Regions from separate parts of the Homo sapiens genome. Here region 2 is linked to region 1. Evidence: promoter capture Hi-C in human tissues and cell types (Jung and others, 2019). All regions are on one chromosome and are shown on one strand. The core of a region is centred on a gene start or on the middle of the fragment in contact, and the rest is flanking DNA. Distances in the headings are between cores, read along the strand shown. Region 1 holds the start of NPPC (natriuretic peptide C). Region 2 overlaps DIS3L2 (DIS3 like 3'-5' exoribonuclease 2).

Region 1 (7,232 bases), core at 1-2,500:
TTTGTTCTCTCTCCAGCCTGCGTCCTGCTCAGCAGCAGCCAGTCATAGATTCCTGCTCTTCAATCAATTCGGGGGATCTGGGCTCTCCGCCTCTGCGGCCCACACCGCAGTGCCCAAATGCCCACCACACTCCTTAGTGTCCAAGGGACCGAGAAGCCCAGTGCAAGGAGAGCAAGTTCGTGAGTGGTAGGGATATGTGGCCATGTCCCGAGAGCCACGGGGACCTCTCTACAGTCAAAAACGGGAAGTTGACCACCTGTCACGGCTGGCAGAGGCTGGACTGGGCCGCTGGCTAGGAAGCTCTCTCCCCAGCCTGTGAAAGTGCACAGGATACTGGAGCGGGCTTCCCCCAGCAGCGGATCCTCGCGTGGGTGCAGGCAAGGTCAGGTGCGCATTGTTCCCACAGAGGGAGTTCACCAGCGGAGTCAGACCCCGGGACGTTCTGTGTGGCCGAAACCGGCTGAACGTGAACCTAGAGCAGTAACTGGCGAGCATACGATGCCGCGGAGCACACGCATGAGCATGAATATCTTGGTTCCGCGCTCGCAGTCCCCTCGTTCCCGCCTTGCGCTCAAACACTCAGGCTGGCGACACCCCTGCACTCTCCAGTGTGGAAGACTTGCGCTCCCCCCTGCGGCCCAGGCGAACCCCGCTCTCCCTGCGCCTCCCACCCCAGTCCTCCAACCCCATCCTCTGCCTCCCCAACCTAACGACGTCGCTGTGGTCTGCGCTCCCGCCCTGACCGGCAGGTGAAAGGCGGAGCTGCAATGCCATCCCGCGGCTGTCAGGTGCCCAGGGAAGAGTTTGGCGACAAGCAGGGCTGCGTGGATTTCGGGCAGCGCCAACTTTATGCCTGTATGACTTTGGGCAAGTGACTTCATTCCTCTGAGCCTGTCTTTGCACCTGCAAAGAGGGCTACGTATCCCTTCCAGGTAGAGTGAGTGCGATGAGGACCTAGTGGGTGCACAGGGCACCAGGCGCACCGATGCTCGGCAGGCCAGGGCGCGCGCTCGCTGCAAATGGAGTTCCCCTGTGCGCTCAGCTCTGCAGCTCCAAGTGCAGCCTGGAGCGAGCCCGCCGAGCCGCGGGATCCCTCCGGGGTGGGATAAGGGAGGGGAGCCCCCGCGGCCCCCTCCCGGCCCTCGGCGCGGCCGCGTGCGTGGTGTCATTGGCCCGGGCGGCCCGGTGGGCGGGAGGATGACATCAGCGGCAGGTTGGATTATAAAGGCGCGAGCAGAGTCACGGGCTCAGAGCGCACCCAGCCGGCGCCGCGCAGCACTGGGACCCTGCTCGCCCTGCAGCCCAGCCAGCCTGCTCCGCATCCCCCTGCTGGTCTGCCCGCCGACCTGCGCGCCCTCGCTGCCGCCCGTGTGCGCCCCTCGACCCCAGCGGCACCATGCATCTCTCCCAGCTGCTGGCCTGCGCCCTGCTGCTCACGCTGCTCTCCCTCCGGCCCTCCGAAGCCAAGCCCGGGGCGCCGCCGAAGGTGGGTGCTGTCGTGGGGACGCCGAGCCTGGGAGAGGCGTGGGAGGCTGGGGGCTTGGAGAATGCGGCGCGCAGGACCCAGGAGAGAGGGAAGGCAGGCGGCTGTCTCCTCCGAGATGCGCGTGGGCGAGAGCCGGGGAGCCCTCGAAGCGCGGATTCGGGGGTCCACTTCTCCAGCCTCCGGAGAACATCGGCCCATGCGCAGCCCCCTACCCCAGTGTGGCCTGCCCGGCGAGCAGCAAAGGGAGGGCAGGGGGCTTCCGGAGGGAGCGGCGAAGGCGGCCGCGTGGCAGGTGGATGCGGGGCCAAGCTGGCCGGCATCGGTGGGGGCGGCTCTGGGCTTGGGAGGGACACCCCGCGCCGGCGGGCGCGTGGGGCTGGAGCATCAGAGTCCCCCGTGCTGCAGCCGCGTGTCCCTTCACCTGCCCGCTCTTTCCTCGGACAGGTCCCGCGAACCCCGCCGGCAGAGGAGCTGGCCGAGCCGCAGGCTGCGGGCGGCGGTCAGAAGAAGGGCGACAAGGCTCCCGGGGGCGGGGGCGCCAATCTCAAGGGCGACCGGTCGCGACTGCTCCGGGACCTGCGCGTGGACACCAAGTCGCGGGCAGCGTGGGCTCGCCTTCTGCAAGAGCACCCCAACGCGCGCAAATACAAAGGAGCCAACAAGAAGGGCTTGTCCAAGGGCTGCTTCGGCCTCAAGCTGGACCGAATCGGCTCCATGAGCGGCCTGGGATGTTAGTGCGGCGCCCCCTGGCGGCGGTGAGTACGGCCCACCCGACGCCCAGCCCCAGCCCGGCCCGGGACCGCCCGCCGCCCAGCCGGCCTTCGGAGGCGCGCGAGCCGCCTTTGCTCAAGTTGTGCTAGGCGTTTGCCAGCCGCCCCCTTTATTATCCCACTTTACAGACAAAGAAAGCGAAGGATAACGTGATCGGGGAACTTTGGCAAGGTCAGAAACGGCTCAGCCTGGTTGAACCCACCTGGCTTCTTCTGGAGAAGCAGAAACAGGCTTGGTGGTGTCTCACCCACCCCTGAACCGTAGCTGAACTAGCAGCACTGGCCCCTATTGGCCAGCTGGTGGGGGGATTGAGAGGAGATCATGGGTTTGTGGGAGCAGAGAAGGAAGGTTACACCCACAAGTCCAGGGGACATCGATCATCTGCTGGCCACCATGCCCCCTGTAGTGAGAGTAGCCCTCTGCTGGCACTGTCAGAGCGCCCTTCTGCCTGGGACACTCCGATTCCTGTCCCTTCTCTAAACCCAGGCAGTGGGCAAACTGGTCTGTCCAGGGTCCTGAGGCAGCTGCAGCCTGGTGGCTTCGGGGGTGAATCTCAGTGCTTGTGGCACTATTTCAGGGAATAGGAAAGACACTAAAGTAAATATTATTTGCCCCAGCCTCGAACTCAACACGTCCCAGAGTCCCTCACCAACCCTGTCCCGACCCAACCGGTGCTCTGGGCTCCGTTTCTGGTGTGGGGTCTCACCCCGCACTAGGGCTGGAAACCTCTGCCCTACCGCCACCCCCTGCCGGGTGCCGCGTGGTGGTAATTTACTGCTGCAGAGAGCCTCACCTCTCCTCTTTCCCTCCTCTCTATTCCTGCCGCCTGCCCGTGCCCACTGAATAACATCCCAGCCTCTGACATTGACAGTCATGTGCGTTAGGATCAGGCTTACCTGGCTTTCTCGCTTTCTTGCCTCCAGCTCAGCAGCTGCCACTGCCTGTCCCACACCTTGACTGTCCCATCCCAGGCTACGGGCAAGCTGCTGTCTCCTCCCCAGAAACCCTTGTCAGTGTCGGATCTTCTCCCGGAGGGAAACAAGAGCGCCTGTCCAGCACACTGTCTCTTTTTTACAGTACAGAACACTTTTTCACAGTTTGTGAACCCATTCACCTCTCCATATTGAACAGCTTAAGGGCGAAGTGCTGGCCTAAGGCACTCTAGGACCCACTGCACCCCGAACAGACTCGTGGAAATATTTGTCAATGACCAGAGAAACCAGCACACCCTGGCCCATGGCCACTCCCACCTGCCCGAGGTTTTAACCAGTGCCCTTCCTCTCTTTGCAGCCAGACCTCACTCGGCTGTGGGCCTCTCCCCAGTTCTGCAAAGGCTGTAGTTGTCTGTGATCTTGACTCTCCCCTGCACAGGGAGAAGAATGATTCTGACACTTGGGGACCAGCCTTCAGTAGCTACCCTTGGAATGCCTTTGCTCTCTTCTCTCCTGTCTAAACAACAAAGAGACGGAGTCTGAGGCCTCAAATTTTCAGTTTGATTTAAGCATCAAGTTCAAACTTTAGAACCTGAGCAAATGTTAGTGACTCTCCATTGGTTCGTACCTGGAATGCGCATCCCCACAGGGGCTTTGTTCTTGGGCCTGGATGTCTGTGGTCACCAAGTGATGGCCAAACGGGTGGTGAAAGATGCTGTGTAGGAGGAATCCACATTGTTAAGAATTCTCGACCCCTTTGATCAGGGGGGTTCAATAATCTCCTACCAGCTCTCTTAGCATAGATGAACACTTACCGTCGACACCTTCAACACCGGCTTACGCCCAACACCAGCTGTTTTATTATTATTTGGGAAGGGCGGTGTGGATTTATTATTTGGGATTTTTTAAATGAAAAATAAAAACCCCACCCTCACTGCCCCCCATTCCCAGTGAGAGAGCAGAACATCATTCCTGCAGGCTCCTGGTGACGATGCCCAGGATATATCACTGGGCGTAAAGAGAAAGACAGCTTAGATTTTTCACATTAATGAAAACTCTTTGAGGTTGTGGCTGTTTCTCCACGCAGTGGGTGACCTGGGCTCTAAGCCACCGTAATGATGGTGGTTGATGGTTCTAGGTATTCATTGTAAAATGCTAATGACAGAGACTGGGTGTAGGTGAAACCTGAATGAACACTTTGCCCCTGGGGCCCAGCAACATCACAGACAGCTGTCATCTGTGTAAACTCACGGCAGAGCCAGAGAAGGGAGTGGGGGAGGGTTCATCAAGCCATTCTGGCCCAGGTCCCCTCTGTGCATGCTGTCCTTTGGGAGGGCACTGAACGCCCCTGAAGGCCACCTTCCTTGGGCCCCGGGGCACCCACACACCCATTAGCAGAGAGTTTACCCTAACAACACTCAGAGCCCATGACTGTGCATTTCCCCAAGGCTGGTGTGAGACACCATTTCCTCTGCTCCTGAAGGGGACCTGGACCCAGACCCTTTCCTCTGCACAACCAGCTAGGGAAGGAGGTGCTGTTTACTGGGTGGCAGCTGTGACCCAGACACTGCCGATGCCCGATCCGAGGCTCCCTGTTGAATCTGAAAGCCAGCCCTAGGAGGTGGCTATTATCCAATTTTATGGGTGAACACTCCCAGCTATCCAGGGTCATCCAGGGACCCAACGTCAGAGTAGAGATTTGAGCCCAGGATTCCTGATCCTGAGATGTCTCTCTTCTCCTTCCATCCATGGTCACTCAGACACACGAACCCCGGGCGAGCACTGACTGAGGGTTTGCGTTGTAGCAAAAAAGGGATGGGAGATTTTCCATTCTCTTTCTCTCACTGCGCTTCCCTGAGTGCCAAGGGCAAGGCCTGTGGTTAGACTGGGGGAAGAAGGAGTGTTGCAGACACGCTGGTTCCACTTGTACTGGGGCAGCAAAGCAGAAGGGGCCTGGGGAGTGCGCAATGGGGGGCTCCTCCCCTCTGCAGGAAGGCCTGGTTGGGGGGGTGGCGGAGGTAGGGGAACATCCCTCAAGCTGCTGGGAGAAGGGGAGGAAAGGTTCTAGAACCACCCTGCCTGCTAGGATTTCTCAGCTAAGGGGCCAGAACTGAGCGTCCCGTGTTCACTCTGTGTTTCAGGATCGGGAACTGGCTCCGTTGTGCTGAGGTCATCTTTGGTCATCAGCCTCCAGCATCTGGAAACACCTCCAACGCAATGTGGCTTTTACATTTCTTTCTTTCTTTCTTTTTTTTTCCTGGTACTGGGAATACACAACACCAGCTGTTTTATTATTATTTGGGGAGGGGGTTGTGATTTTATTATTTGTTTTTTTAAAATGAAAAATAAAAAGTTATATATTATATATATATTATATACATGAAACACACACACCTACACCGACTTGATGACAAGGGACAGTTTTTAAGAGACTGACAGAACCAGCTGTAAAACATTGCTGTTTGTAAATTCATGTCATGCATAAATGTATTTATGTTGTAAAGCTATTTATATTGTTTATAAAGAGATATTTATAAAAATTTTATTTATGTAACTAAATGAAAGAAGTCAATCATTGTAATGTTTTTGTCCTAACTAGTTAAAAAAAATGTAAAAAAAAAAAAGTCATTCCATGAATATCTTGAAAACTGTCTTTATTTACTTGTTGCCTGTATTTTTTAGGACTTAGGCTGAGAAAGAGGGAGAATGTGAAGAAAAGGCATTGCCTCCAAATAGGTCTGACAGGCAGATTCCCAATTCTGGATTTATCTGTGTCAGAATCCCCTGGAGACCTTGCTAAAAATACAGATTCCTGCCTTCTCCGAATCTGATAGGACTGGCTGTGTAAGTTTCGTCCCAAGTGATTCTGACCAGCTCAGCCAGGTCAGGAAGCTCTGCTCAAACACCTGACCGCTAGGAAGTCAGATGTTATGAATTAAATTAATGACGGCCGGGCGTGGTGGCAGGTGCCTGTAATCCCAGCACTTTGGGAGGCCAAGGTGGGTGGGTCATCTGAGGTCAGGAGTTCAAGACCAGCCTGGCCAATATGGTGAAACCCCATCTCTACTAAAATTACCAAAATTGCCGGGCGTGGTGGCAGGTGCCTGTAATCCCAGCTACTCGGGAGGCTGAGGCAGGAGAATTGCTTGAACCCAGGAGGCAGAGGTTGCAGTGAGCCGAGATCACAGACGGCACCCCAATCCTGGGCAACAGAGCAAGACTCCATCTCAAAAAAAAAATTAATTTTGAATTCAGCTGACTTAGGGTCCTGTAAATTCTACTCCATCTTCTGCTGTTAGTGGAAGAAATAGCTGCTAACTCCCTCTCTGTTTGGGGGAGATTTAGAAGGCTTCTGCATATCTTGCAGAATTGGCCAGGTCACCTTACGAATCTCAGCAACTCTGTTTTCTAGACTCGCTCACAAAGCCTAGGATGGGTAGTTTGTGCCTCATAATGAATGCCATGGTCAGCTGGGAGCCGAGACCTTGGAGAGAAGGAAAAGGCGTTATCAAATTTCATATCTGTAGTGTGCTGCGCTTTGTGGGAGGGTTGTGGGTTTTCTTTTCACTTGAAGCCACTAACAATTACATTTCCTATGCCCCATGGAGCTATGAGTGTGGAATTATGAATATAATTTAGAATTTATGAATATAATTTAGATTAGAATCTCTTCTCCTAAAACCAGCAGGAAACTTTGAAATAATTCCGAGGTACTCTCACTACATGCTTGGTTGGATGACAGCCCTGTGCAGCCTTCCCTGTCATCTGTCCCCTGTTAGGGGAAGGTGGGAACATACCCTCTTGGGCCAGTAACATCAGTGGATTGGGGGCACCCTGCTCAGGGGAATTGGGAGCAGTGTTGCCCTGTGCTCATGGGTCCGCAGGCACCGAGAGGAGTTCCAGAGGAAGTGTCACTGGGGAGGTAGCCAGTGTCACCTGGTCTTTCTGTGGGTGTTTGAGCCCTGGGACCTTTGTTCCAGGTAGCCCTCCAGCAGCAACCTCTCAAGTGTGTGAGTAGCCAACACAGTGACATTGCCCAGGTG
Region 2 (6,503 bases), core at 1,511-4,010, 140 kb before region 1:
CAGCCTTCCTCAATATTGCTCCATTATCAGGACAGCTTCTCTCCTCATAGAGAAGGATGAAGGATGCAAGGATACCAGTAGCTCCAGAATTACATTCCATCCTCTTAGAGATCCCAGTAAAAAATTAAAACAAAAACAAAACCCGATAAGCTCTTAATGAGAGACTCTGCAAATAAGTCCCAAGGCTGGGTCTGCTGGGGTTGATTTGGGTCACATGCCCATTCCTCCATCTATCACCACAGCAAGGAAGTGAACTACACTGATTATCCCTGTATCTGAGGAATATGGCCAATTTTTCAACACTAGTAAAGAATAAAGTTGAAGCTTCCTTAGAAATGCTCAAGTAGGATCATTTTAAAAGACAAGTCTCTGTATTTTTATTCATAGAACACTACACTGATAAAACAATACACAGAAGCCTACTTCTATGGGTATAATTTCCAACTGCTTGCCAGAATGAAAGATTATTCCCCTTTTAGAATCACAACAATTTTTGATAGAGAATCAAAGCAGAGATATAACATCATTCAGGAAAGAAAATAACCTGTAAAGGTTAAACAACTTGTCAAATAAAGATCATCTATATTTAAAGATTTTATGTGTGGAGAGACTTAGCTGCAGTCCCTTACCTCAGATTTCATCTTAGAAACACACTTAAATATCCTGGACCTCACTAAAAAATAAGCTCAGGCCAGACTCGGTGGCTCACGCATGTAATCCCAGCACTTTGGGAGGCTGAGGCGGGCAGATCACTTGAGGCCAGGAGATTGAGACTAGCCTGGCCAATATGGTGAAACCCTGTCTCTAATACAAATATAAAAATTAGTCAGGCATGGTGGTACATGCCTGTAATCCCAGGTACTCGAGTGGCTGAGGCATGAGAATCACCTGAACCCGGGAGGCAAAGGTTGCAGTGAGCCGAGATCGCCACTGCACTCCAGCCTGACTGACAGAGTGAGACTGTCTCAAGAAAAAAATTAAAATTAAAATTAAAAATAAGCTCAATTTGCAGACCATTTCAGAAAATCAAACAGTATATAATAAAAAAAATTTCAGGACAAGGGAGATTCAGGACAGTGATATAACAGCCATAATTCCGGAGCCTGAGGATATTCCAAAGGATCAATTTAGTATTAAGAAATTAACCACAATTATCTGAAAGATCAGCCAACACTTTAATTACCACCCTCATATAAATATATATACATATAACTTTTTTTTTTTGAGGCAGGGTCTCACCCTGTCACCCAGGCTGGAGTGCAGTGACACAATCATGGCTCATTGTACCCCCAACCTCCCAGGTACAAGTGATCCTCCCGCCTCAGCTTCCCAAGTAGCTGGGACTATTGCATGCCATCACGCCCAGCTAACTTTTGTATTTTTTTTTTTTTTTTTTAGTAGCAATAGGGTCTCACTTTGCTGCCTAGGCTGGTCTTGGACTCCTGGGCTCAAGCGATCCTCCTGCCTTGGCCTCCCAAAGTGCTGGGCTTACAGTTGTGAGCCACTGCACTTGGCCCACCCTCATATATTGATGACAAAAACTGAAACCACATTTCTTTGATCAGTGGTTTCTGGCATACTGTAAAGTACATATTGCTAGATTTTAAAAATCTAAAATATATAGATTTCACGTATAGCCAACTCTAAAAATCTACTTATGTCTATAATCATCCTTGCCTTCTTCTGCAGTGCAAATACAGATGAAGTGATTCACTTCTTTTGCAAAAGACCAATCCCAGCACATGCTCTGAATACTACTTCTTGCTCTGAGGGTTTTGCTCCTTGGATAATCCTTCTCTCCCCATCTCATTGCCTCTCCCTCTCTATGGTAAATCTTTCTCATATCAGCACACAAATGTTCTCTATTACCTCCCATCTTTGAAAACATTCCCATATTAATATTAGACACAGTGATTCAAGAAAAAAGGCATTACCAGGGAAAAAGAGGAACACTTTATGTTGATAAGCGGCACTGTATTAGTAAAATATAATGATTACAAATGTATATGCACCTAATAAAAAAGCTTTAAACCACATAAAGCAAAAACTGACAAAAGTAAAAGGAGACATAAACAAATCCCCAATCATAGATATTTTCACAATTAAATAAAGTAAGACAAAAACCAGTAAGGAAACAGAAGCCCTGAACAATGCAAGCAGCTGTAACCTAAGTGGCCTTTACAGAGCATAACACTGAACAACTGCAGATATAAGTTCAAGTGCACAGAGAATGTTTACCACAATAGACCATATGCTGAGCCACATGAATTTCTGTAGGTTTCAAGAGCTTGATATCTTGCAGAGTATGCCCTCTGACTATAACACAATTAAATTAGAAATGAATAGTAGTATGATATTCTAGAAAAGTTCCTAAGTATTTGAATATTCACCTATACACCTGAAAATAAAGAATGGGTCAAAGAAAAAAATACAAAGAAAACTTTAACTTATTTTGAACTGAATAATAAAAATACAACACGCTAACATGTGTGCAATGCATGTAAAGTAGCGTCTAGAGAAAATGATATAGCTCTAAGTGCTTCTAATGGGAAAAAGGGACTAAATCAATTAGCCAAGCTTCACCTTCAAAAGTCTGGAGGTGGGAAGTATAAGAAGCTAATTTAACCCAAAATAAGTGGAAGGAAAGATACAGTAAATTTAAGAGAGAAAATCAATGAAATAGAAAATCAGACCAAAAACTAGAGAAAATGAATGCAACCAAAAGTTATTACATGAAAAGATTGATAAAATCTTCCACTAGAATGATAAAGAAAAAAGAAAAATAAGGCACATGATTACCAATAATATTTCAGAAATTAAAGAGGGGCAATCATTAAAAATCTTACAGACATTAAAAGGACAGTAAAAGAATATTATGAACAGCTTTATGCCGATACAGTCTACAAATTAGATGAAATGAATAAGTCCCCTAAATGAAACAAATTACCAAGACAGATACAAGAAGAAACAGAAAAATTTAAAAGCCTTTAGTATCTGTTATCAATAATAGGAATGTCAAAAAAAATGTTGGGTCATGTTTAAAACCATCACACTCTATATCAATAAAGAAATTTAAACTGTAATTAAAAACCCACTAGAAAAGAATACTCTAAGCCCATATGCCTTCACTAGTAAATTTTATCAAATACTTAAAAAGGAAATACCAACCCTATCATACTCTCTCAAAATATAGGGGAAGAGGAAACATTTCCCAACTCACTTTATGAGACCAGTATTATTACCCTGATACCAAAACCAAAGACATAATAATACCAGTAAGTCACAAGTTAATAATCCTGATGAGGACACATGTTAGATCTGTCAACAAATTATTAGCAAACCAAACCAATGAATAAAAACCTAATTTAACATTTTAAAATCAATCCCTGTAATTCAACATGTTAACAGGAAAAAGAAAAGAATCTGTATAGTCATCTCAATACACACATTTGACATAATTCAACTTCTATTCATGATGAAAATTCCACTAAGACTATAAGGATATTTCCTCAGCTTGATAAAGGGCATCTATGAAAAACCTAAAACTAACATAATTAATGAGAAAGATAGAGGGCTTTCCTCATAAGATCAAGAACAAGGCAAGAATATCTCACTACTTGTGTTCAACATCATAGTGAAGGTTTCTTGTAAAGCATGAAAAAACTAAAAGGCATATAGATTAGAACAGAAAACATAAAACAGCCTTTATTCACAGACAATATATATGCAGAAAATCCTACAGAATCTTTAAAGATGTACTAAAACTAATAACTAGGTTGCAGGACATTATAAAAAATATATACATATACATATACAAAAGTCAATTTCTATATACTAGATATGAACAACTGGAAAATAAAATTAAGGGGATAATTTCAATTATCATAGTATCAAAAACATGAATGATTTAGTAAGAAATCTAACAAAATATATGCAAAACTTATACACTGAAAACTACAAAATCCTGTCAAAAGAAATTAAAGAAGACCTAAATAAATGGAGATAAATATCTGTTCATGGATTAGACAACTCCAATCTATGCCATTTGGACCCCAAATTGATCTACAGACTCAATGCAATCCAAATAGGCTTTATGCATAGAAGTAGATAAAGTCAATTCTAAATTTCCCATCAATATACACAGGAGCCCAAAGAGTCAAAAGAATTTTGAAAAACAAATACCACTAAATATTAAGGCTTACTACAAAGCTACAGTAATTAAGGAAGGATAGATAAATAGATTAATGGAACAGAATATAGAGCCTAGAAATAGAATCACATTTATATAGTAAATTGATTTTCAATAAAGATGTCATGGTAATTCAATAGGGAAAGGAGTCTTTTAAACAAATGTGCTAAAATAAGTAGATATCCACAGGAGAAAGATGAAATTCAGCCCTCACTTCACACTATATATAAAAATTAACTTGAAATGGACAATAGACCAAAAAGTGAAAATTCAAACTACTATAAACCTTTTATAAGGAAAAAAAAGAGACTTGCAGAAACAGAGTAGAATGGTGGTTGCCAGGAGCTGGGGGGAAAAAGAAATGGGAGCTGCTGGTCAATGAATATAAAGTTCCAGTTGTATAAAATGAATTAAGTTCTAGAGATCTGCTGCACAGCATCATGCATACTTAAAAATACCATGCACTTAAAACTTTGGTAAGAGGGTAGATCAAGTTAAGTGTTCTTACCACAATTTTAAGAAGAAAGAAGAAAAGGAGAAATCTTTGCAACTTTGGGATAGACAGAGATATATTAGATAGGAAACCAAAGGCATAACTCATTAAAAATTTTGATAAATTGGATTTCACCATAATTTAAAACTTCTGCTCTGCAAAAGGTACCCTTCAGAAATTTGTGTAGCAAAGGACTTTTGTCCACATTATATAAAGAACTCTTACAATTCATTAAAATGAAAGCCAAAAATGTATAAAAGACTTACACAGACACATCAGAGAATAACATATATATTAATGGGTGTAAATACAAAAAATACTCAGCATCATTTTGTCATCAGGGAAATTCAAAGCAAAATATAACAAACAATAACAAAGGAGATAACACTATACATCCACCAGAATGGCTATAATTATAATATGTGGTGGTGAGGATGTAAAGAAACTGAATCTCTCATATATTTTTCATGGGAGTGAGAAATGGTACAGCTACTTTGGAAAACCACTTCATAATTTCGTATAAAGATAAACATATGCTTACCATATGATCCAGCAATTCCACATCCAGGTACCTACTTAACCAAGAGAAATAAAAGCATATGTTCTTACGATGATGTGTACAGCAGTGTTCACAGGGGCATTGTTCTTAATCATCAAAAACTGAAAACAACCAAAATGTCCTTCAACTGGTGAAGAGGTAAACAAACTCTGAAACATCTATACAATGGAATACTAGTCGGCAACAGTGAACAACATGGATAAATTTCACATGCGCACGCTAATAGAAAAAAGCCAGACTCAAAATTATTCCATTTATATGACATTCTGGAAAAGGTAAATCCACAGGGATGCAAAACAGATCAGTGGTTGGCAGGGGCTGTGGGATGAGGGGAAATGTTGACTTAAAAGGGATACAAAGGAATTTTCGGGAGTAAAGAATGCTTTTCTATCTTCATTATGGTGATGGTTACACAAGATTTTAATTCATAGAACCGGACACTTAAAGGGAGTGATTTTTTACTATATGTAAATTATACTTCAATAAACCTGAGCAAAAAGACTATATGAACCAAATAAATTTTTTTTTATACCAAAGCCAAGCAAACTCAGCATCTATACACAGGAAAAGTGCAAAACTCCATAAAAACACCCAAACTACAAGCCAAGGTTATGATCTAAAGGTATCAAATATTTTTTATTCTGATAAAACTTAAAATCCAAGAAATATTTATCAAAATTTTGTAATGTGCAGAGCATCTATTAGGCATCAAATTACTCCCACTTACAGTGAGGTGACGCTTCAGTTAATAAGGCATTTTCGAAAACCACATCGCTAGTATTGGCCTATCAACACCTAGAAATAAGTACACCCACAAAGCACATCCCTAACTATCTTCAAGCAGAAGCAATCATCAATCAAATGGTATAAGCTTTAGGAAATGAAGGCAGTGTCTTGCTTCCTGTGAGATGACGAAGGAAAGACTTAATTAACATGGCAGAATGCAGCATAGGTCATGAGAATGGATAGTGATGAAAAAAGATGTCATAGTTTAAAAAGTTCAAGAAGTAGGCATGTTTGCAGAACAGAAAGTAGACAGGTGTCACTGCAGCTGGAAGCTTCTGAAGAGGCACAAAAAAAACAAAAAATCCACTAAGGAAGAATGAGCTCATCCTTGCCAAGGAGGGCCTTAAATGTCATTCGTATGTACCTTAAAACGCACAGGCACATACACACATGCACACATACACAGTTTCTTTTTTTCTCAACTTGATGCTTAAAAGAAAGATAGCCATCAAGAAAGAAATCAAAATAGAAATGTT

What was found. The method cuts DNA at HindIII sites, captures the fragments that hold promoters and counts their contacts. A contact is called where the count stands out against the background at its distance.
Region 2: a contact is called between a fragment that was not itself captured here and the fragment with the promoter of NPPC in region 1, in 2 of the 25 tissues and cell types used here (H1 embryonic stem cells and dorsolateral prefrontal cortex).

Annotation. Positions count from the first base shown.
Region 1 is chr2:231,920,414-231,927,645 of GRCh38, reverse strand. It overlaps NPPC (natriuretic peptide C), which reads left to right and starts at 1,250. Exons shown (of 3, transcript NM_024409.4): 1 at 1,250-1,486; 2 at 1,931-2,241; 3 at 5,331-5,837. The coding sequence starts at 1,397. The coding sequence ends at 2,221. RefSeq lists an enhancer at 1-560 and silencers at 962-1,181, 2,137-2,186, 2,267-2,356. The HindIII fragment of the contact is 16,124 bases long and covers 1-7,232 here.
Region 2 is chr2:232,063,303-232,069,805 of GRCh38, reverse strand. The region is part of intron 5 of DIS3L2 (DIS3 like 3'-5' exoribonuclease 2); the gene reads right to left. Among named protein-coding and RNA genes, the nearest start is that of DIS3L2, 100 kb to the right of the region's middle. The HindIII fragment of the contact is 3,171 bases long and covers 1,175-4,345 here.